7 separate regions of the Homo sapiens genome follow, and all the other regions are linked to region 1. The links are contacts of gene promoters, found by promoter capture Hi-C in blood cells and fetal thymus (Javierre and others, 2016). All regions are on one chromosome and are shown on one strand. The core of a region is centred on a gene start or on the middle of the fragment in contact, and the rest is flanking DNA. Distances in the headings are between cores, read along the strand shown. Region 1 holds the start of DCAF16 (DDB1 and CUL4 associated factor 16). Region 2 overlaps WDR1 (WD repeat domain 1). Region 3 has its middle 5.0 kb from the start of WDR1. Region 4 has its middle 3.9 kb from the start of ANAPC4. Region 5 holds the start of PI4K2B (phosphatidylinositol 4-kinase type 2 beta). Region 6 holds the start of ZNF518B (zinc finger protein 518B). Region 7 holds the start of SEPSECS (Sep (O-phosphoserine) tRNA:Sec (selenocysteine) tRNA synthase).

Evidence for each region. The method cuts DNA at HindIII sites, captures the fragments that hold promoters and counts their contacts. A CHiCAGO score of 5 or more calls a contact.
Region 2: a contact is called between a fragment that was not itself captured here and the fragment with the promoter of DCAF16 in region 1, in 1 of 17 cell types (neutrophils). The highest score is 6.1, in neutrophils.
Region 3: a fragment that was not itself captured here is called in contact with the fragment with the promoter of DCAF16 in region 1 in 1 of 17 cell types (neutrophils); the score reaches 6.7 in neutrophils.
Region 4: a fragment that was not itself captured here is called in contact with the fragment with the promoter of DCAF16 in region 1 in 1 of 17 cell types (non-activated CD4 T cells); the score reaches 6.1 in non-activated CD4 T cells.
Region 5: a fragment that was not itself captured here is called in contact with the fragment with the promoter of DCAF16 in region 1 in 3 of 17 cell types (fetal thymus, naive CD8 T cells and non-activated CD4 T cells); the score reaches 6.8 in fetal thymus.
Region 6: the fragment with the promoter of ZNF518B here is called in contact with the fragment with the promoter of DCAF16 in region 1 in 1 of 17 cell types (total B cells); the score reaches 7.6 in total B cells.
Region 7: a contact is called between a fragment that was not itself captured here and the fragment with the promoter of DCAF16 in region 1, in 1 of 17 cell types (naive CD8 T cells). The highest score is 8.0, in naive CD8 T cells.

Annotation. Positions count from the first base shown.
Region 1 is chr4:17,809,282-17,812,119 of GRCh38, forward strand. It overlaps DCAF16 (DDB1 and CUL4 associated factor 16), which reads right to left and starts at 1,476. Exons shown (of 3, transcript NM_017741.4): 1 at 1,166-1,476. NCAPG (non-SMC condensin I complex subunit G) reads left to right here and starts at 1,698. Exons shown (of 21, transcript NM_022346.5): 1 at 1,698-1,907. The coding sequence starts at 1,797. RefSeq lists enhancers at 1,014-1,103, 1,145-1,656, 1,224-1,383, 1,657-2,169. The HindIII fragment of the contact is 3,530 bases long and covers 1-2,734 here.
Region 2 is chr4:10,103,814-10,106,651 of GRCh38, forward strand. It overlaps WDR1 (WD repeat domain 1), which reads right to left. Exons shown (of 15, transcript NM_017491.5): 3 at 83-173. Among named protein-coding and RNA genes, the nearest start is that of WDR1, 12 kb to the right of the region's middle. The HindIII fragment of the contact is 1,084 bases long and covers 937-2,020 here.
Region 3 is chr4:10,120,352-10,123,189 of GRCh38, forward strand. No RefSeq gene overlaps it. Among named protein-coding and RNA genes, the nearest start is that of WDR1, 5.0 kb to the left of the region's middle. RefSeq lists an enhancer at 2,403-2,838. The HindIII fragment of the contact is 999 bases long and covers 894-1,892 here.
Region 4 is chr4:25,371,940-25,374,777 of GRCh38, forward strand. No RefSeq gene overlaps it. Among named protein-coding and RNA genes, the nearest start is that of ANAPC4, 3.9 kb to the right of the region's middle. The HindIII fragment of the contact is 3,082 bases long and covers 1-2,838 here.
Region 5 is chr4:25,232,671-25,235,508 of GRCh38, forward strand. It overlaps PI4K2B (phosphatidylinositol 4-kinase type 2 beta), which reads left to right and starts at 1,363. Exons shown (of 10, transcript NM_018323.4): 1 at 1,363-1,761. The coding sequence starts at 1,494. LOC105374535 (a long non-coding RNA gene) reads right to left here and starts at 1,195. Exons shown (of 4, transcript XR_925490.3): 1 at 1,119-1,195. RefSeq lists silencers at 1,153-1,462, 1,563-1,802, 1,843-1,902 and enhancers at 1,189-1,690, 1,691-2,190, 2,123-2,252. The HindIII fragment of the contact is 3,001 bases long and covers 1-2,838 here.
Region 6 is chr4:10,456,011-10,458,848 of GRCh38, forward strand. It overlaps ZNF518B (zinc finger protein 518B), which reads right to left and starts at 1,416. Exons shown (of 3, transcript NM_053042.3): 1 at 1,307-1,416. RefSeq lists enhancers at 482-541, 524-1,339, 602-761 and a silencer at 892-1,531. The HindIII fragment of the contact is 4,989 bases long and covers 47-2,838 here.
Region 7 is chr4:25,160,257-25,163,094 of GRCh38, forward strand. SEPSECS (Sep (O-phosphoserine) tRNA:Sec (selenocysteine) tRNA synthase) reads right to left here and starts at 193. Exons shown (of 11, transcript NM_016955.4): 1 at 1-193. The coding sequence starts at 113. SEPSECS-DT (SEPSECS divergent transcript) reads left to right here and starts at 416. Exons shown (of 2, transcript NR_037934.1): 1 at 416-497. RefSeq lists a silencer at 1-46 and an enhancer at 157-456. The HindIII fragment of the contact is 232 bases long and covers 1,135-1,366 here.

The DNA of each region.
Region 1 (2,838 bases), core at 226-2,725:
AGCATGGTGTCTGGCACATAATAAAGGTTAATTAAGTGCAAGTTACTATTATGAACATATCAATATGAACCACAGCAATATTGATTGAAAAAAGCCAGATGCACATATAATTATTCATTTAACGGTTAAAACATGCAAAATAGTACAATATCCTCATTCAGGGATTTATTCATGTCATTAATATATTAAAATATGTCATTAAGATATAGAAAGCTGCATGGTAAAAGTTAACAGTAAATTCAGAAAATCCATTACTTCTTCGGAGGGCAGGTAATTCAAAAGGAGAAAGATGTACAGGTGGCTTTAGTAATGTTCTATTTCTTCAGCTGGCAGTAGGTTACTGAGGTGTAGGAGAGGGAAAAACGGCTTCCCTCCATCCTCCTAGGTTCTTTGGCTGGGTTACAAATTAACCTGACATAGACATTAACAAGAAAAAAAACCCGTACTTAATTACATACGCAGAGGAGTCCCACCATGGTCAGATGATTGAATATTATACAGCATCCTACGCTACTCAAGAAATGGGGGCTTGCGGCTTTCTGGGGGATGGTGGCCACAAAGTTGTGGAAAGGTGAGGGGAGGAAATATACGGTGAATAAAAGTTGTCTTGGTATGCAGATAAGATCTCCCAGGTAACAAAAATTATCGCAGAGCTGCCCTCTTTCTGATACAGATCCTTTACTGATGTATATTTCCTCTGTAGATGTCAATTTCTTTTACAACAGGACAGATTTTCAGAGCGACTCCTGTGTCTGCATTTTATCAGAATACCAGCTCAAAATATACTCTAGAAGTATATTGTAGGGTGGCATATTTTGGTCTCCTACAGTCCTATTTTTGGATGGTGCATCCTGAGATCCAACAGAAGTTCTGTCTGATATAATTTCATTTAAAATTTAAAAACCTAGTTCCTACTCTTCTTTATTTTAACCACTACCCGAAAGACCTTTCCATTCTCTTGAGTTCTCCCTTAATACACTGTCCTTATGCACACTTGTAAACAGGGCCTACACAGCTGCACATCTAGAAACGGCAGCAGCTAAGTTAGCCCGCACCCCCCTTCGCAACGATCCCCGGACTGCCTGCACGCCCTGTGGAACCTCGCAGTCGGCTTCACCAGGGCAGGGACTAAGGCCTTCAAAAGACAGCATCCGTCTCCACTAACCTCGGGTCGCCCCGCTCAGCGGACCCAGCAGCGTCGTCTCCCTTCTCAGAGGTGGCCGGGCCTCCGGAACGCGCTACGAACTTTCCTTTGTCGCCGTCTCTCGAAGCGGAGCCCTCGTGTGGGGATCCCCCGCCCTTCGGCCACAAGGGAGGTTGTTATCCTCGGCAGATCTCCCGTTCTCACTCTTGGAGGATCGCTTTTTCTTTCTAGCCTCACGCTCAGCCGCACGACCCAGCCAGGCCTAACGCCAGCAGCCCTTCCCCTCCGGTGGCAAGGCCACTCCGCTCAGCTCCCGCGCCGACGCTACTTCCGGCCGAGTCAAGGCCCCTCCCCCTTAGAAACGCCACTTCCCTCCGTGAAAACGGCTGGACAAGGTTGAACCTAGACGCATGCGCCCAAAGCGCGGGGTGCGAGGTGGGTGGACCCATCGCTTCCCGCTCTCTTCTCCCAAAGCGCTTACGGCAGTCTCGCGGGATTTCCCCCTCTCGCGGGAATTATTTGAACGTTCGAGCGGTAAATACTCCCTGGGGCTGTCATAGAAGACTACTCGGAGAGCGCTGCCTCTGGGTTGGCGGGCTGGCAGGCTGTAGCCGAGCGCGGGCAGGACTCGTCCCGGCAGGGTTCCAGAGCCATGGGAGCGGAAAGGAGGCTGCTGTCGATTAAGGAGGCCTTTCGGCTGGCGCAGCAGCCGCACCAGAACCAGGCGAAGCTGGTGGTGGCGCTGAGCCGCACCTACCGCACGGTAAGCGCTCCCGGCCCCGGCCGCCGCCTCTCGCCCGCCCCGGCCCACCCTCCCTCAGGGGCCCTCCGTGGCCCTCGGGCTCGGCGCACCGTGACTCCAGCCTTGTTCACCTTCGCGACTCACTTCATAGGGATCTGAGGTTCGGAGAAGTCAGGGACTTACCCGAGGTCGCCTGGGCCCAGGCCAGAAAGCCTCCGAAGCCTGGGCGTCGTTCACACGGGCCCCGCCTTGGCTTTTCTGAGCCGACACCCCCAGCTTCTGGGCGGCGTGGACCGTTATTCCTTAGTCCGATCGTGAACGTGGAGAGAAACATTTACGACCACCGAGGCGATCAGACATCAAATATTGAACCGCAGAGTGGATCCTGAATGCGGGGGTTCAGTGGTCGTTGCCCCTGGGGTCATCGCTCCCCGCCGAACATCAAATGATTCTACCCTTGTCCTACGGTTACGTTGAATCCAATCACCAAATACCAAATTATTTTTAGGGCCTGGCCATTCTTATTTATGTACATACTATTTGTTTGTTTTGAGTGGAACCTTGAGAAGAATAGAACAATTAATTTGGGGAAGATGAATTATCTTGAGGTCCAAGAAAAATTGTGAGTAAACATCACAGGGCTTTGAGGATATGAGATAGGATGTGCAAGTTATCTCATAAAGAAACTGCTGGTGATAGGAAGGCCTGAATATGAGAAATATAAAAGCCAGTATTGATTTTGGGTTGTTGAAGAAGCGTATTTGTAACGTACTGGTACTAAAGGCTTATTGAGAATCAAAGATATTGAAAAAAATATATCAAAGGAATCTTTTCACTGTCAAAAGTCAAGCTTGTGTACTCCCATTATAGCCTGGAGAGAAATTCATGCAAATTGATTGCCCTTTGGCTGGTTTGGATAATTAAGAGTTTACTAAATAAATATTTTAATTTG
Region 2 (2,838 bases), core at 229-2,728, 7.7 Mb before region 1:
GCCAGAAGCCCAGCTTCGCCCTGGGCCCTGAGCGCCACCCAGGCCCCCACAGGTGTCCACGAGCCTTGCCCCCATACAGTACCTCCGGAGGCAATGTAGAATCCGCTGGGCGCATACTTGGCCACCACCACCTGATGGGCGTGCTCTGTGTAGATGTCAGCAAGGGCTGGGTTCTGCAGGAGGAGACCCCGGAATGAACAGAAGGAATGGAGAAGCAGTCAAGCTTCCAGCTCTCCACATCAACAGATATGGGGTGAAAGGGGTGTACAAAGAAACACTGAAGCTAAAACCGTGAAGAAAACCGCAGAAGCATACCACTTGCCTACGTATCTACTGCCTGCCTACCTATCTCTGGGTGATAGAATTTCATGTTACTTTAATTCGTTCTCCTTAGTCTATGACTGTACAACAAGGTGATTTTTTTCCTTTTCTGCTTTTCTGTACTTTCCATAATACAGAACAAATATATCAGTGAAACAGATACACAAAAGGTGGATTAGAGCAAGAAGCCCTGGTTCTAATCCCTCCCATTTGTGGGAAGCTGCATTCATTCCAGCGCTCTGTTCTCTTCCGTGTTTAGGACCAGCTCTCCTGGCTGCCAATCAATGTTGGACCCCAAACTCAGCGCCTGGCTGTGCTGTGCAGGAGCAGAGCAGGACACGCTGTGGGAGCCCTCTCTATCAAAAACTTGGGTTTGGAAAGGAAAGTCGATTCCCCACTCCCTTGCATAGCACAGATCAAAGGCTGGGTGGACTTTGTGGCAAAAATGGGGCCAACATTTGAGACTAGAAGCATCTTCAGCAATGAGGTTTCAACATGTAATGTGCTAAAAGTAGATCCCTGCGCCTCCCTCCCGGCATACACACACACGCAGGGCCTCAGTGAAACAGAAACACACACACACACTGGGCTGCTCTCAATCTGTCTCCACAGTGAAGCTTTCTTTCAGGAGGGAATAAAGACATGGCCATCTAATCTCTGCTACCTACTGTCAGCTTTTTACAAACCAAGTGCTCTTTGAAAGAGGCAGCTTCCCGCCAGCTTGAGGCTTAGGACACACCAGACTCCTGTGAGGGTGCCCGGGCACCCCTAGCATGACCCCACCTGCTGCCACCCCACCCCTCATCTCCCTTAGACCCCTCCTCAAGACCTGAGGGGCCCCCATCTCACGAGACTGAGACCACAGAAGTACAGACCCTGATTCCTGCCCACCTTCTGCCATCCTGTTTAAGCTCCACGTCTGTGTGTAGTCTGTGCCCTTGGCCAGCACCTCTCCCTGCCTACGGACACCCACTCACCCATCAGGCCTAACGGAAGCGTTCCCTCCTCCATGAAGCCTCCAAGTATGGCCCAAGCTATCCGTATCAACTCTTCTGTGCTTCCAGATCATTTAACATGTCCACCGGGATGGCACAACACACATCATAGTCCCTAGCATTCCTGTCCATCTCCTCCAACTCTGCTGTGCCCTGCTTAACATGACCTTTATCTCACTAGCCATCTCAATAAGTGGTTTGGGGGAGAAAAAAAGAAGTACACACAGACCTTCTCTTTCATCCCTAAGACTTAACACAGCATTATGTGATATAATAGACACCAGTCATAAATTAATCCATTTTGGGATAATCGTTCGCCAGTGAAATTAGAATGTATCAAGGTGTCTATCCAAAGAAGATACTACGAATGACAAGTAAGCACATGAAAAAGCGCTCAGTGTCATTAGTCTTGGGAAATGCAAGTCAAAACTACAACAGAATACCACTCCATACTCACTAGAATCAATAAAAAGAAAAGACTGACATCACCAAGTGCTGGCAAGGGTAGAGGGGTGGGGACACTGGAATGTTCACACTGCTGGTGGAAATGCAAAATGGTACAGTTGGAAAAGAGTTGGGCAGGTTATTTATAAACCTAAACAGACACTACTCACACCAAACACCAGCAACCCCACTCCTAGGTATCTGCCCTGGAGAAATGGAAGCATGTGTCCACCAAAAGACACAGGAGCAATGTTCACAGAAGCTTTCTTTGCAATGGCCAAAAACTGGAAATACCCAAATATCCATCAACAGGTGAACAGAGAAACAGGCAACACACCGCACTGCTTAGTGATAGAAAGGAACAAAGTGCAAATGCACTCAACACCAGCTATCAATCGCCAACATGTTATGCAAAGTGAAAAAGCCAGACAGAAAAGACTACACATTGCCTCTCACTTCATATGAAAGAAGATTTTAGAAAAGGCAACCCCAATGACAGAAAGCAGATAAGCAGCTGCTGGGGGTGAGGGTGGAAGGGGTGGCGGGGGCGGGGGGCACCCTCCGGAGTGACAGGAATGTTCTGTCATGACAGGGGTGGTGCTTATGGGACTATATAGGTCATCTGTCAAGATCCAAGCCACACACTGAATACAGACAAATTCTACTGTATCTAAAGTACACCTCAATAAAACTAAGATGCTGGCTATTTATTAAATGTCTGCCCAATCCAACCCTCTCCCACTCCAATTAGTCCTTCATATTCTGACACTGACACATCCCTACCCAAAGCACCTGGCAAGAAAATGATCCACTTAACAGGCAGCCCCTCCAAGACCCTGTTCGGTGTACACTCACAGCTGACTGGGGATGGGGGAGGTCTCACGCTCACATACAGGGGCACCTGCCCATCCCGCCAGACAGATGGCCTCGTGGGCTCTCCCAGCCTGGACGACCTCCTCCCCAGGCCGTGCTGCCGTAGAAAGGGTGGGGCTCCCATGGGCCTTCCGCTGGGGAGGGCATCCAGAGATGGAAGATGCCTGGGCAGGGGCATGAGAGGAAGTTCTGCCCCTAAAAATTC
Region 3 (2,838 bases), core at 143-2,642, 7.7 Mb before region 1:
AGAACCTCTGTATCAAATCTTTCTGTAGCCACAGCCCTGCTTTGGTGCTCTTTAACCTGGGTTATTCTAATTTCTTCCTGACCAGTTAATCTGTATCTGCTTGGAGCCCCTTACTGCAGCCAGAGAAACTTTAAAAGCTTGTTGAGCCTTGGGTAGCCTAGGTTTCTATCTTGAGACCGAACATCCTCCCTGGGCTTCTGAGACACTGGCATGCTGAGGCTCTGCCTGGCTCAAGGAGCAAGTCTCCTGGGTCATTCTGTTCTGGCACCTGTCTCTGGGTCTTCACTGATGCCTCAGTTTAAGGCCAATCCACCCTCAAGCTATACTCCCATTTTGTTGCACACTGGTTTGCTTATGACTATGGGGTTCATCAGCGTCTCGACTCTCCCCTTTTTAGGGATTGAGAGCAGGGACCTTGTTGCTCGAGCACTTGTTGCAGGGGCCCACCCAGACAATTGGAAACAGAACGCAGGTGTGCCAGATCTATGAACACCTGCGTGCTTTTCAGACAGTGGCAATTCTTCCTTTTGCTGTGTGAGCGAGCAACATAAGTATCACCTGAACTTAATTCTAAAGTGGCAACAATGTGTTCTTGAAACTTCTAAGCAGCAGCAGCTTAGGATACTTAACTCTTCGACTACCTTTGGGGTAAACTAGCTCCAATTGGGTAACTTGGGCAAACCGCTAACTGGCGTCAGGTGCTAAATGAGCTGTTTAACAGCTTTCCACTCAGGGGAAAACAAGTTTGGAGTGGGTTCTGAACGCTTTATGTAACGCAAACAGTGGGGGCGTGTGGATTCCTGGAATGCACCTTGTCCTCTGAGCACGCTCTGAGTCCTGGCTTCTAGAGCCACAAACTGCAAATACGTCAGATGTGTGAGGCCTATACTGGAAGCTTTGGGGAGGAACAAAGCCACAGGAGAGCTGAATTTCTCTCCAAAGCCTGTCAAGCTGCTTCCTCACTTTCAACCCTCATGGGTTCTGTCCAGGCTCAGGAAAAGGGGGCTTTCTCTTTCCTGTTGCTTCAACTGTATCAACCCCCTAGGAAGAGCCCTATGCAAGGGTAGCGCTGCTCCCGTCTAGCTCACCCTGTGGACTGAACCCCCGCCCTTTCCACAAAGGACTGTTGGGTATAGTGGGGGAAGCCTTTCTGCTCCAGGAATTTCAGTCCCTTTTGCAGGCCTGTCCCTGTCTCATAAATAAGCTCAAGTCATATTCAAAGTTTCATCTCCGGAGTGTCCCTGGAGTAAATCACCTTTATCTACTACCTCAAGCCAGTCTCGCTGCCTCCACCTCCCCATCTGCACAGGGAGTTGGAGTGATTGCCAGTGAGTCCTCTAGAGGGTCTGACACATGGTGGGAAGTGGCTGCCCACAGCCTGAGTTAATGTGTAACGCTTTTAGCTTCGCTGTCAGGCTTTCAGATCTTTAATTCTCAAATCTCACTGGTTGGATCGAGTCCATAGTCCGTTACTAGCTGTGACTAGGGAGGGTGGTGAAATGCATGGCAAAAGCAGCTACTGGTATCCACCTTTTGACCTGGAAAAATCCGGGTTGTGGGGCCTGGGCTGTCCCTCCAAAGTGAACTGGAAACCGGGCTACCTTGCCAGAAGTGCTTGGATGCCTTTGTCAGAGGACTGGTAACAAAGCCTTTAACCTGCTAGCATAAACCTTATGCAAAAGGGGTTAGCCCGGTTAATTCTGCCAAGGCAAGAAATGAGTTATCTGCAACCCTCCAGTGAACTCGTTTACTGAATCCCTTCTTGGGGGGCCCTATGTGTTGTAAATACCTTTCTTTCCAGTTGAGCAGCCCATTGGAAAGTGGGTTTTGCAAATAAGCAAATAACTAACACCTGCATGCTGCAGCAGCTTTAAATCCCTGCAAGTCATGGAAGCTTGGGCATAACTTTTCAGTTTGAGGTTACTGAAGGATGTACTTCTAAACAGCTAATCAACGGCATAACTTTAGTAACACAGTACAAGGAATATATCCTACTTGGGTTGTCTACCCTTGTTTCTTAACCATAGCTTCAGGCAACGAAAGCTATCTGATCATCAAGATCCCGGTGAAGGGGGTGGTAACTGGGTGGAGTTGAGCCTCCACACTGGAGGACCTAAGGCCGTGTCTTGCACTGCTTCGAAGCTCCTGTAGCTGCAAAAGAACTCTGGGGACAGTTAAACAATTCCCCTGTCCCATTCTTCTTAAACTCCCATAAGTGATAGAACACAGTCGCTTCTGTCTACCTGCTGCCTGAGACTTGGTGTGTTGCTGTGAGGCCTGGTGACAGCCCCGGCCTGTCCTTTCCCGGGACCCTTCCTGGAACGTTTACTTACCCTCATACTTGCAAGCACTTCGTGTGAGCTAGATGCTGGGTTTGTGGGCCCTTGCCCTTCATCTTACATCAGGGAAGGGAACTTGGGTTGGAACTTTGCCGAGTTGAAAAGCAAGTGATGCAACCAGGAGTTAAACAGGTTGGGTCTACAGAGTCTAAACTGTCCTTTACACGTGAAAGGGCTGAAATGGATAGATCAGATATGGAAGTTTTAATTGTGCCCCTAAATAACCAACTTTTCCAGTGAAGGTAGAATCTTAGCATGCTCTCACCCAAGTTCAAGGATAGCGTCAGTCGCTCTCCAGTTGAAAGCTTTGTCTTTGGGTAACTACTTACCGTCCTAGGGTTTCTGCCTTTTCCTTCTGACTCAGTCCACAGTGCCTGGGTCTTTGCTGGCCTCCAGTTGTGTGGTCAGAGCTAACGTGTTTGGCTGTTGAGCACCGGTGTCTGGCTTGTTTTGTGCCCACAGTGCAGGGGCTTGGCTACGTGGTCACTGGGCATCCTGT
Region 4 (2,838 bases), core at 224-2,723, 7.6 Mb after region 1:
GAGAAACAAAGTCTTTTTGTAGGCTGGATTTCATGTTTTTTCCTAATTAGTCCAGTACCTAGACTAGTTTATCACTCCATATGCCCCATTCTTTTCATCCGATACTGTTCTTTCTGCTTGGAATATGTCCCTCCATGTGGCCACTCCGTTCTCTTTTGGGAATCTTCCACGAGTCCCTGATACTGAAACCTTCTTTGGCCCCTTGGTGTTTGATACCACATTTAAGGCCTTTCACATATTATTCTGTGATTATTTTTACTGATTTTATTTCCCTCAAAGATTTAGGTCTCTTAATGTCAGCACCCATTTCATCTGCTCTTGTGTATCTTGTGCCTTTTTGGTGCTCAATAAAAATTTGATGTAAGCATGGAATTTTCTAGAGGCTTTGAAGTGGTAGGCATGCCTGAAATACGGACTGGACCCACTCTATTATGTTTCTTCTAGGGACTGAAAAGGGAAACAGATTTGTATTAGGAGGCACTTAGAGTCAATATGAGGACCACCCTAACTGAAGTTTTAAATGTGGGGATGTGCTGCGTGAAGATTAGTAGCCTTGTAGCAGGATGAGCCGTGGACAAAACCCCACAGACACCAAGATAGTGAAGGAAGTAGCTTTTAATCAGTTGGAAGCATCGACAGTCTAGTGTCTTAAAATCCGAGTTTGTTGAGTGCACAATTTCTGTCCCTTTTAAGGGCTCACAACACTAAAGATTTTACATGACAGGGCCGTGATCGATTGAGCAATCTAGGGGGTATGTGACAGGGGCTGCATGCACCGGTAATCAGAGTGAAACAACAGAACGAGAAGTTTCACAATGTCCTTCCATACAATGTCTGGAATCTACGGATAACATCGGTTGCTAGGTCATGGGTTGAATTTTAACTATCAGGCTAAGGTCAGGCAGGCCCAGGCCTGGTTTTGGGTCTGGTGCCTGGCACCCGGCTGCCTGCCTTTGGTTTTGCTTCCTTGTTTCTTAAAACAGGTACTGAGCATAAAACAATATAGAACAATACGGGGGGGGATCTCTTTCTCTCTTCTCTCAGCTTTATCTGCAAGACCCCTTCAAAGTAATCTGCAAAATACTAGGCATCTGGGAGAAGTTTGACTAATCTTGAAATATAAAATCACAACCTACAAAGGGTCCTGGTCAGCTGCCACTGCCTTCACAATGTCCCTGTTGGTCTCTCCACTGGAGTAGTACATCTGTTGCCAGAGAAATAAAAATGTCAGTTTGTGTGTTGTTTTTATACTTCTTTTATGGTACTTAAATCATGCCTTGTATAAGAATGACTTTATATACTTGTTTAGCCCTGTACAGATTAGAAGCTCGTTGATGGCAGTGCCTGTGGACATCATTGTGTTTGCTTACTAGGCACATGCCTTTTCTACGGCGATAGAGATGACCAGCCGCATCACCTGTGACCTCAGTTAATGGGAAGCAGGCAGCCAGGCTAACACATTTCTTCACCATCTAGGTAGTAGGTGCTCATAAATACCAACTGAGTGAACGGAAATGCCATTTAATATACCGCTTTATGCCTCACACCTTAACTATACTATGGAAGAAGCAGATACACTTCGAGCTCTCTAGGTAGGACAGCTTCCACAAAATCTAAAGGAAAATCCAGTTTCACTTATTTGATGTGATTTTAGTTGGACCATGAGGACCTGGGCTGAAATTAAGGGTCAACTAAGAAGGTCATTGCAATAAAGTAAAGATAAGATCTCTGCTATTTGATTTCAGGCAATTTAGTATAAATGTTAACTCAGCAAGATGAGGCTATAATAGCACCAACATTGAGCAACAAGATCTCAGAGCCCTGAGAGGCTGAGTTTTATCCCAGTTGTCTTTGGTGGAACAGTTAGTTACAAGATCCCTGGTTTAACTGCTTCATACCACTGGATACTAGAAGAGGTGAAACAGCCGGTAATCTCTAAGATGGTAGGCCTGAATAGATGGGTCAGTTTCTTCATCTGCAAGTGTGGAGAGGAGGAGTGGGAGAACACTAGAGGAAGTCAGCCCAAATATTCCACATGCTTAAAGAAGACAGGCCAGGTGCGGTGGCTCACACCTGTAATCCCAGCACTTTGGGAGGCCAAGGGTTGGGGGGGGGTGTGAAGGGTGTGGATCACCTGAGGTCAGGAGTTCGAGACCAGCGTGGCCAACATGGTGAAACCCCGTTTCTACTAAAAATACAAAGCCGGGGATGGTGGCGGGTGCCTGTAATCCCAGTTAGTTACTCGGGGCAGGATAATCACTTGAACCCGGGAGGCAGAGGTTGCAGTGAGCCGAGATCACGCCATTGCACTCCAGCCTGGGCTACAAGAGTGAGACTGTCTCAAACAAACAAAAAAAAAACAGAGGAAAACAAAGGTTGCTGCCTGTTAACTTTACAGTTAATACATGAGCCAGGTAAATCAAGGAAAAATAAAAGCATCTCTAACCCTACCACCCAGAGATAATCACTATTATAACTTCCCTGTCTACTGTTCCAAAGATAGGTTCTTGCATAAATAGGCTTACAGACACATGCAAAAATTTCCCTCAAGAAAATGGAATTTTAAGTACATACTGTTTTATGACCCATGCTTTTTCATAAGTATACTGTGAACATCGATTTATGTCTGCATAATATTCTTCAGGATAGATATATTTTTTAAAAATCTATGATGGGACATCTAGGTTGTTTGCATTTTTTCACTTTCGTAAATAACCTTATAATGAACATGCTTAAGTAAATATTTATTTCTCCTGCCCTTGCCTCCTTAAAAAGCACTGATAGCCGATCCCTGAGCCTTCTTCCCTTTTTCTCTTTATTCTGCAGTATTTTCCTAAG
Region 5 (2,838 bases), core at 133-2,632, 7.4 Mb after region 1:
ATCTTGAAAGGTTTAAGGGCCAGTAAAGAATTTACTATGATTAATTTGTTGAGGACAGTCATCCTGAGACTGAGATGCATAAGGCTTTTTTTTGCATTTTGAGGAGGGTCTGGCTAACATATAAAGTTTTAATACAACTATGGGAAGTAACAGCTATCCATTTGGGAAAAGCATTGTAGTGTTGAGTGACTTCAGTCTCCAGGCTTAACTCTCCCTTTGACATAACAAGTTGGGGGTGGGGGGTGGTTCTGAGATTTTTATTTTCCTTTACAGGGTCAAAGAGGAAATCATAAAGGAAATTAAAAACTATTTTCAGCTGAAGGAAAACAAAAGCACAGTAGCAGGCCAGGCAAGGTGGCTTATGCTTGTAATCCCAGAATTTTGGGATGCTGAAGCAGGACGACTGCTTGAGACCAGGAGCTCAAGACCAATCTGGGCAACAGTGAGATCCCATCTCTACAAAAAATTTAAATTTAAAAATTAACAGGATGTGGTCGTGCACACCTGCAGTTCCAGCTACTGTGTCTTCTACAGTTTAAAGCTGAGAAGATCCCTTGAGCTTAGGAGGTTGAGACTGCAGTGAGCTATGATTGTGTCACTGCACTCCAGCCTGGATAACAAAGTGAGACCCTGTCTCAAAAATAACAACCACCAAGAAAAAAAAAAAGGAGAATTCAGCTAAAGCAGTGCTTAGAGGGCAATTTATAGCCTTAAAATACTAGCATTGGAAAAGCAGAAAGATCCAGAATCAATCATCTTCTACTCTAAGCAACTAGAAAAAGAAGAGGAAATCAAAACTCAAGTGAGCAATAAAGAGCAAAATAAGGCAATGGACCAGAAAACAGAAAATCAATGGAACCAAAACATGACATTTTGAAAAGATTTAAAAATTGATAAACTTCTAGCTAGATTAGTCAGAAAAAGAAAACATACAAACTGCCACTATCAAGAATATCTGAACAAAGACAAGGTCCCTGCCCTCCTGGACGTCTACTGGAGGAAAGAAATGTCATACAATTAAATCTATAGTTACAGATTATGGTAAACTCTGAGAGAGAATTCTGTCAGGGAGAAGCCGCTTTTGGTTGCAGGAGGGCACCTCTTTGAAAATTACTCACCTTCCCGCCCTCCACTGGGAGTAAAGCGAGCTGTGCCCAGCTTCTCCCCGCGCTCACGGAAGCAGGTGGCGGCCCCACCCCACCTGACCCCTCAAAAGCCCCGCCCCCTGTTCACTCCCACGTGCCCCGCTGCCGCCGCCGCCGCCGCCACGACCCTTCTGCGCAGGCGCGGGGGTGGTGCCTGGCGGAGGCGCGAGGTGGGGCGCGGCCGGCGGCGAGGCGGGACAACCGCTGGGCGGGCGCCAAGCGTGCCCGTGCGCTGGTGAGGTGGCGTCCGTTCTACCCGGTCGCTCCCGTTCCGCGCCATGCAGAGCCCAGTCTCTGGCACCTGGCTGCTCTGATCTGGTCTCAGCGCGGAGGGAGCAGAGGGAGTCCATGGAGGATCCCTCCGAGCCCGACCGGTTGGCGTCCGCGGACGGCGGGAGCCCGGAGGAGGAGGAGGATGGGGAGCGGGAGCCGCTGCTACCGCGGATCGCCTGGGCCCACCCGCGGAGAGGCGCCCCAGGCAGCGCCGTGAGGCTGCTGGACGCTGCCGGGGAGGAGGGCGAGGCCGGCGACGAGGAGCTGCCCCTCCCGCCCGGGGACGTGGGGGTCTCCCGGAGTTCGTCCGCCGAGCTGGACCGGAGCCGCCCCGCGGTTTCAGGTGCGACCCGGCCCTGCCCCACTCCCCGCGCCCCTCCGGGCGGCTGCCCCTGTCGCCCGGCTCGGTCCTGTCTCCCGCGCGCGCTGGCCGAGGTGGACGGGCTTTCCCCGCTCGCTGGGCAGCAGCTCCCGAGCTCGGACCGGCGCCAGCCGCAGCCGCACCGCGGGCACCTAGCTTGCTCGCTCTTTCTCCGGGAGCTCCCTCTCCTAAGGCCAGTGGTTGTCATTAAACCGATTCTTTAGACCTCCCCGCAAAGTGAGTCAAAACTTCTAGAAACCGACACTGGGGAGAGGTTAACGCTGTAAAATGACGTAAGTCCTTGCTCAAGTTTGGACTTGACTTTTGAATTAAGAACCTTGAACTCTCAGGAAAGTTCCCGGAGTGGTGAATTTGCAAAGTGGATGACAGGAGAGAGATGGACAGCCAGAATATCCAGTTGCCACTGGGGCACGTTTCAAAACCTTTTTCTATTAAATGTTGTTATTATGAAGTTAGCCACAGGGGGCAAAAGCAGTTGAAAGTCTGTTCCTGCCCTCTTACAGTTTAGTTTCTCTTTCTTGATTTACTTCTAATACATAAGAAAACCAAAACGAAAAACCTCTTTTCGCTATTAAGCGGACTGATAACCTCAGGCGAAACAGGGCAGTTGAAATGATGTTGAAGGTTAAATTTAGGTATGCTGTGCAGGCCTGGATATTTATTAATAAAGTGAGTTTTTCTGGCGTGTTGAATGGAGTTAGACAAATGTGATGGAAATAGCAAGAGACTTGTAAGACTCTCAGCTAGAGGTGAGACAGACTTGTTTGTAAAAAGGCGATGGTACACCTCCCTGCTGGTTGTGAGGATGGATTAAATGAGATGTTGTGCACCCGGTTGGTTTATCGCTTCACACATGACAACTTAAAAACCACAGAAAATGGAAGTTTCTTTAACACTGCTTAGTTTTTTTTGGAATTGTTAGATTTTAAATGTACTGTTAGTGGTACACTAATGTGTCCTTTACAGTTTAAAGAATTTTGGATAGAATCGGTCACTCAAGTTCTAGCTAGAGGCTACATTCAGGCATATTCTAGAGTA
Region 6 (2,838 bases), core at 166-2,665, 7.4 Mb before region 1:
TGTATTCCCATCCTCAGTCTCTGCTCTACTGTAGAAGAGTACTGCAAGCTTCTAGAGACCCAGGTTTGTCTTAATTCTTGGTGATTTCAAGTCTAAACTTAAGATGGTTTAAAGAGTCTAACACAACATTAGAGTTTAGCTACGTAGATTTGTACTTTTAAATAGGACATAATGCTCTGTAGTTTTTTTTTTTAATGTTACGTTGATAAATCGTTCATTATTACAATTTTTAAAGTCAGAGGTATTGTAACGGGATACATTAACTACCCAACTTATAAAGACTTAAGTGTTTTCTCCCGTTCGCTCTTTTGGCTTTTCCTTTCTGGTTAAGAAACTTTCATTCTTTTGAACCCTGCAATTTCTTGGCTTTACAGAGCCCCAAACCCCAAAGACACCAAGATAAGACGGGCAGGCCGGTATGGGGAGGTCCCACAATGACATCAGCATTTGGAACAATTCAAACCTTCACCATCTCTTCTCAACCTCCTATGTCCTCGCCCCCCGTAAAAGATGCGCAGGACCTCGATGGACGAGCCCACCCCTGACCCTCTCAAGGAAAGACAATGCCAGGCTGGTTTTCGAGTTTATTGTCGGCACGCTCCCCCGATGGCAGGCAGCATCCGAGGCGAGCGCGCCTGAGCCTGGGCGCTCGGAGGACGAGGCCAGGTGCATCGGGCGCATCGTCGTCTCCCAGGCGCGTCCCGCTCGCCGCGAGGGAAGGCCGGGGTTCTTCCAACCGAAGAAAACCAAAACCGTCAACGCTCAGCTCCGAGGCCCGCAGGAGGCTTTAAAAATGGCCTCCTGACGACACTTCCTGCTCGGCGCGGACGGTAGGAGCCCTCGGAGGAGGCATCCTTCATAACGCTGGGGGCGGGGAGCGCAGGCCGGGCCAGCGGCGCCACACGAACGGCCCCGCGGGACGCTGCCACCCCCGCCTCGGTCGCCCCGGCGCGTCGGCCGAGTCCGCGGGGTCGCGGCGCACAAAGGCGAGCTGGGGGCGCCGGGCCGGACCCCGACCCTAGGCCAGGCCCGCGTACCTGCTCAACGCGCGCCAAGCCGCGGCCCGGGCCCCCACCCCAGCCGGTGCCCCACGCCCACCAGCCGGAGCCCGCGTTCGGCCTACCCGGTGCCACTTGCCACGACGCCAGCCCTCAGCGCGGGCACGCGGGGCCGCGGCCGCTCGACCCGCCCCGGCCTGGCCCCGTCAGGCCCCCGCCCCGCGCGCCCCCACGACCCGGCCGCAGCTGGCGCTTCGGTCACGTACACGCGGATCCGGGGGCCCTCGCCCTCCCGCTCAGCTACTTACCCGGCAGGCCGGATTCGGGTGCCAGGTCCCGGCGAAGGGGCGTCTACACCGCCGGCCGCAGACCGCCGGCGCCGCGCCCGCTGTAGGTCCCTACCCGGGGGGCGGAGCCCGCGCCAGCCCCGCGCGTGCGCAATGTGAAGCGGCGGCGCGGCTCCAGCGAGGCCGGCGCCTGAGGTCTCTAAGGCTGCGCCCGCCCCCGCCGGGCTTCTAAGCTGTCCAGAGCGGGGAGCCTCAGACCCAGCCGAGCCCCACTTCTGGGCTTAGAGCTTGACCCAACACGTTCGCACCGTAGCGAGCGAGGTCCACATTTAGCCATGCCGCAGGCAAAAGAAGGATTCGGCTTCGGTCCTGGCCCAGTCTGCCATCCCGGGGCGCCTGCCTTGTACCGGGTCCCGCGGAGGGCGGCCTTGGCGCCTGCCTCCCTGGAGCCTGCAGTCCTGCAGTGGGTGAGTGAAAGCGAGAGAAGAGGAGCTCAGGTCCTCAGCCTCCAAACTCGTCTTCTTGGAGAGCTTCAGTGAAGGAGATGGCCTTGAAGTCCTGGGTACAAATCCTGACTCTCCCTACTCCTTTACATCTTAGCTGCTGGACCTTGGCGAGAAAGTCCCCTGACCTCTCTCAGTGTCTTCATTTCTGAAGACGGGGAAGGTCGTATGTGAGGCGCAAAGCCTCCTCTAGCAGTTGGGCGTTGCGAGGGTCAGAGGGGACAATGACTGTGGGAGTCTGGAGAGGGTGTGAGCTCATTTAATGCCAGAGTTTCTTTCCTGCCTCCTGGACTTCGGTGCTATTTTGGGCGAGCCAACTGCCCTCTAGATACACCTGCATCTACGGTCCGGAAGGAAGACATATTTAGAATAGAGCCTCTAAGAGGAAAGAAGAAGACCATATTGCCAGGTCCCGCACAATCAGTGACTCCCCACAAAGTGAAACAGCTCTCCAGCAGGGGCAGGTTGAGGCATGGGAGCAGCGTCACTGGGAAGTACAGTTTCTTCGGGATGAACAGCTAAAGTTTATTTCAAAGCTCTGGAGGCGGGGGCGGGGCAAGGCTGGTTTCCATCACCTTCCTGTTGGCGGCCAAAGGTCGGCGTGCACGGACAGCGGCCAGTATGCTGCACGGAGGAGATGTGGGCCTGGGCAGTACTGCCACACGGAGAAGCGGAGTTGAAGAAGACAGGCTCAGCCACAAGTCCAGCAGCTGGGCAAAACCTCCACCACTAAAGTATCAGGAGCTGGGCAGAGAAAATAGCAGCCCAGAGAGCAAATCCTTCTTCCTGCCCTAGGCTGCAGTGCTCCTAACCTCGGTCCTGATCAGGGAGCTGCTAGGGTCCTGGTTTTCTATCTCCTAGGGCTCAGAAAAGCTAAGGAACCTCTTCTCAGAAAAACACATTTATGTGCAGATAGCACCTATCAGAGAGAATATGCCAGAGAGTTCAAAGTCTCCCTCAAGAGTAGGGTCAAGTTGGGAAAGGCATTGAGAATCCAAACTAGGAGCCACTGCCTGAAAATCTCTAGTGGCAAACAGAGCCACATCAGGA
Region 7 (2,838 bases), core at 1-2,500, 7.4 Mb after region 1:
TTCTCCAGAAGCAGCCGTATGAGGTGCTCATGCGAGCGGCGGGCCTCACAGCCCTGCCGCACGTAAGCCGGCGACACCAGCCGCTCTCCCGCCGCGAAGCTCTCGCGGTTCATGACAGCGGTGGCGACAGTGGCGAATAAGCGGGAGCACTAGCTCCACACGCCAGACACACGACGGAACCAGAATGCAACTCGCCGCCTGGACGGTACGGCAGCGCCTTGGGACAAAAAACAAAACAAAACAAAACAAAACAAAAAAAACACTTCTCGTTCGTGCACATGCGCAGACCTTCTCAGATGGCGCTCCAGGAGGAAGTTGGCGTATTTGAGCATGCGCGAGGGAGTCCGCGCTTTTCGCTGACTTTTGGCAAAGGAAGGACTGAAATTAGCCCCGCCCCGCTGCGGCTGATTCGTCTAGTTAAACCCTGGTGTTCCTGACACAAACTTCAGGAAAGGATTTTGCACTTGTGCAGACCGGGCGAGCAGAGTAAGAAGCAGGTACGTGGGTTTTTCCAAGTTCTGTGTTTCAGTCCTGTTGGATGGTTGAGATCTGTGCAGGGTCTGTGCTTCCGCCTTATTCAAACTGTCAGATGCCAGAACCTTCGATCTTTACTTTGATACATTTCCACACTTATTACTGCCTCACAACCCCATAGGAAATAGCAGTGCCCCACTCATTTTCCCCTTGACACTACTGTTTAGCCATAGCACTTACTACTCACCACGTGACATGCCAGACGTTTGTTTATACACACACACACACACACCCATACCCATGAATGTAAACTCTCTAACCTAACGGCAGGACCTCGGTTTTTGCTGCGGTGCCCCCTTCCCCCGGGCACCTAAAACAGTGCCCAGAATAAAGTAGGGCCTAAAAAAAAAGTTGATATTGAATTAATGAATTAGTTTGACCATTCTGAAACTATCCCCAAGAACATTTTGTAAAATTGATTAAGGAGGGGAAAAAAATCCAACTAGGCTTACAGCTGCTGTTATTAAGCCAGCTTGCAGTGTGGCCGACTTTCTTGTAGCTGGTTGCTACTTACTACCCCAGGAGAATGTGGCCCTTGTCACAAGACTCTTCATTCTTTTTCTGCTCTGAAGATAAAATCTAAGACATTATGAGAAGATAAGCTTTCTGTTTGCATTGCTTCTTTAGGTCCCGCATACCAACAAAACTAAGGACGCCAACTTGTCTGGAAGGCCCAATAAAAAGCTGATTCATGGAGGAATGCAATTGTCACATCCTAATGATTTCATCTCCCTTACCCCAACGAATCGATAACCCCAAATTTTCCAGCCCCTCACCCTCCACAAATCCCCTTAAAAAACTTTGCCTAGAACCCCTTGATGAAATGGATTGAAGCTTGAGAACTCTTCCTGTTTCCTGGCTTGTAACTTGTGATTATTAAAACTTTCTCTGCTGCAAGCCTGCTGTCGGAATACTGGTCTGTTTCTGCACAGCCGGCATAGGAACCTGGCAGTGCTGTAACAGTTCAACAACTTAGAGGTTCACTGCTGGAGATCCCTGCCTCCAGTTTCCTTACAATCTTCATCTTATGTGAGCCTACAGTAATTCCTGACATTGCTTTCACCTGGTGGTTTGTCCATTTGCACTGAGTCACACCCACTTGCAAGAGCTGATTGTTAAATGTTCAGTAATTTTGTGAGCTAGTTTTCAAATACAGCCACTCAAAAATTATATTACAAGCAAAAGTAAAAATACTCAAAATTTGTCACTTCCTAATTATTTTACATTTTACTATTATCTATGCTCTTCAGGTTATTTACATGCATTTTATCTATATGGTGGAAATTCAATGTAATGTTATACTACTGCACATCTTCCAACTCCTCTTTTGATGATGTCACGTTGGCCATGGTGGGAGCATTTACACCATGGAAATCAGTAAACACCGCTAATCAGGCCCTTACACTCCAACCCACTCCCCTAGAAGTCAGTTGTTCAACATGTACCAGCTCATCACTGTTTCTACTGCATGTTCCCATGGCATCCAGCTATTAATATAAATCAGTCTATTTATGGTATTTGTTGAATTGCATTTCAATTGTTAATTTTCTGTCTCAACTAGACTGTGAACTCCTGGTTCACAAGGGCTATACCAATATCTGTGTTCAAAGCACAGCACTAAATACATAATAGCTGTTTGATAAATATTTGTTGAATGACATAGAGCATTTAACTACTTTAAACAGAAAGGTAAACCACAAAACAACAAGAATTTAGCATACTTTCTAAAATGAGTATTTTTCAAACTTTTGGAAAGTTGTGTTCCTATTCTCAAAATGCAACTATTTTTGCAACTTCTTCTTTGGAAAAGCCTTCAAAGCTGCTTTGTCAATCACATGCAAAATGTGCAAAAATCCCAAAATTAATGTCATTACTGAATGGACACGCCAGGTTTTTGAGCCAGCTTCTTCTCTTACCTTATTCACCACCTTACTTCAGAAAAATGTTTGTCTGTTTCCAAAAAGTTAGTCATTGTCAAGATATGCATTCATTAAAGGTATTCAAAAGATACCAGCTTTGGAAGCAATTTCAAGAGAAGTATTCTAAAATTACTTTCATCCATTCACTCACCCAACAAGTATTTATCCATATGCCCATTTTACAGATCAGGAAAGCAAAGCTCAAGAAGTTTGAGTAATGTATTTAAGGTTATACAATGAGTGACACTAGCAGAATTTAAACCTGTGTGTTCTGGACCTATTTTAAATGATGCTATCTATTAAAAATAGTATGTAATTATTATTTTAAAATAGTAGTTTGTAACTACTATTTTAAAATAGTATGTAATTACTATTTTTAATAATA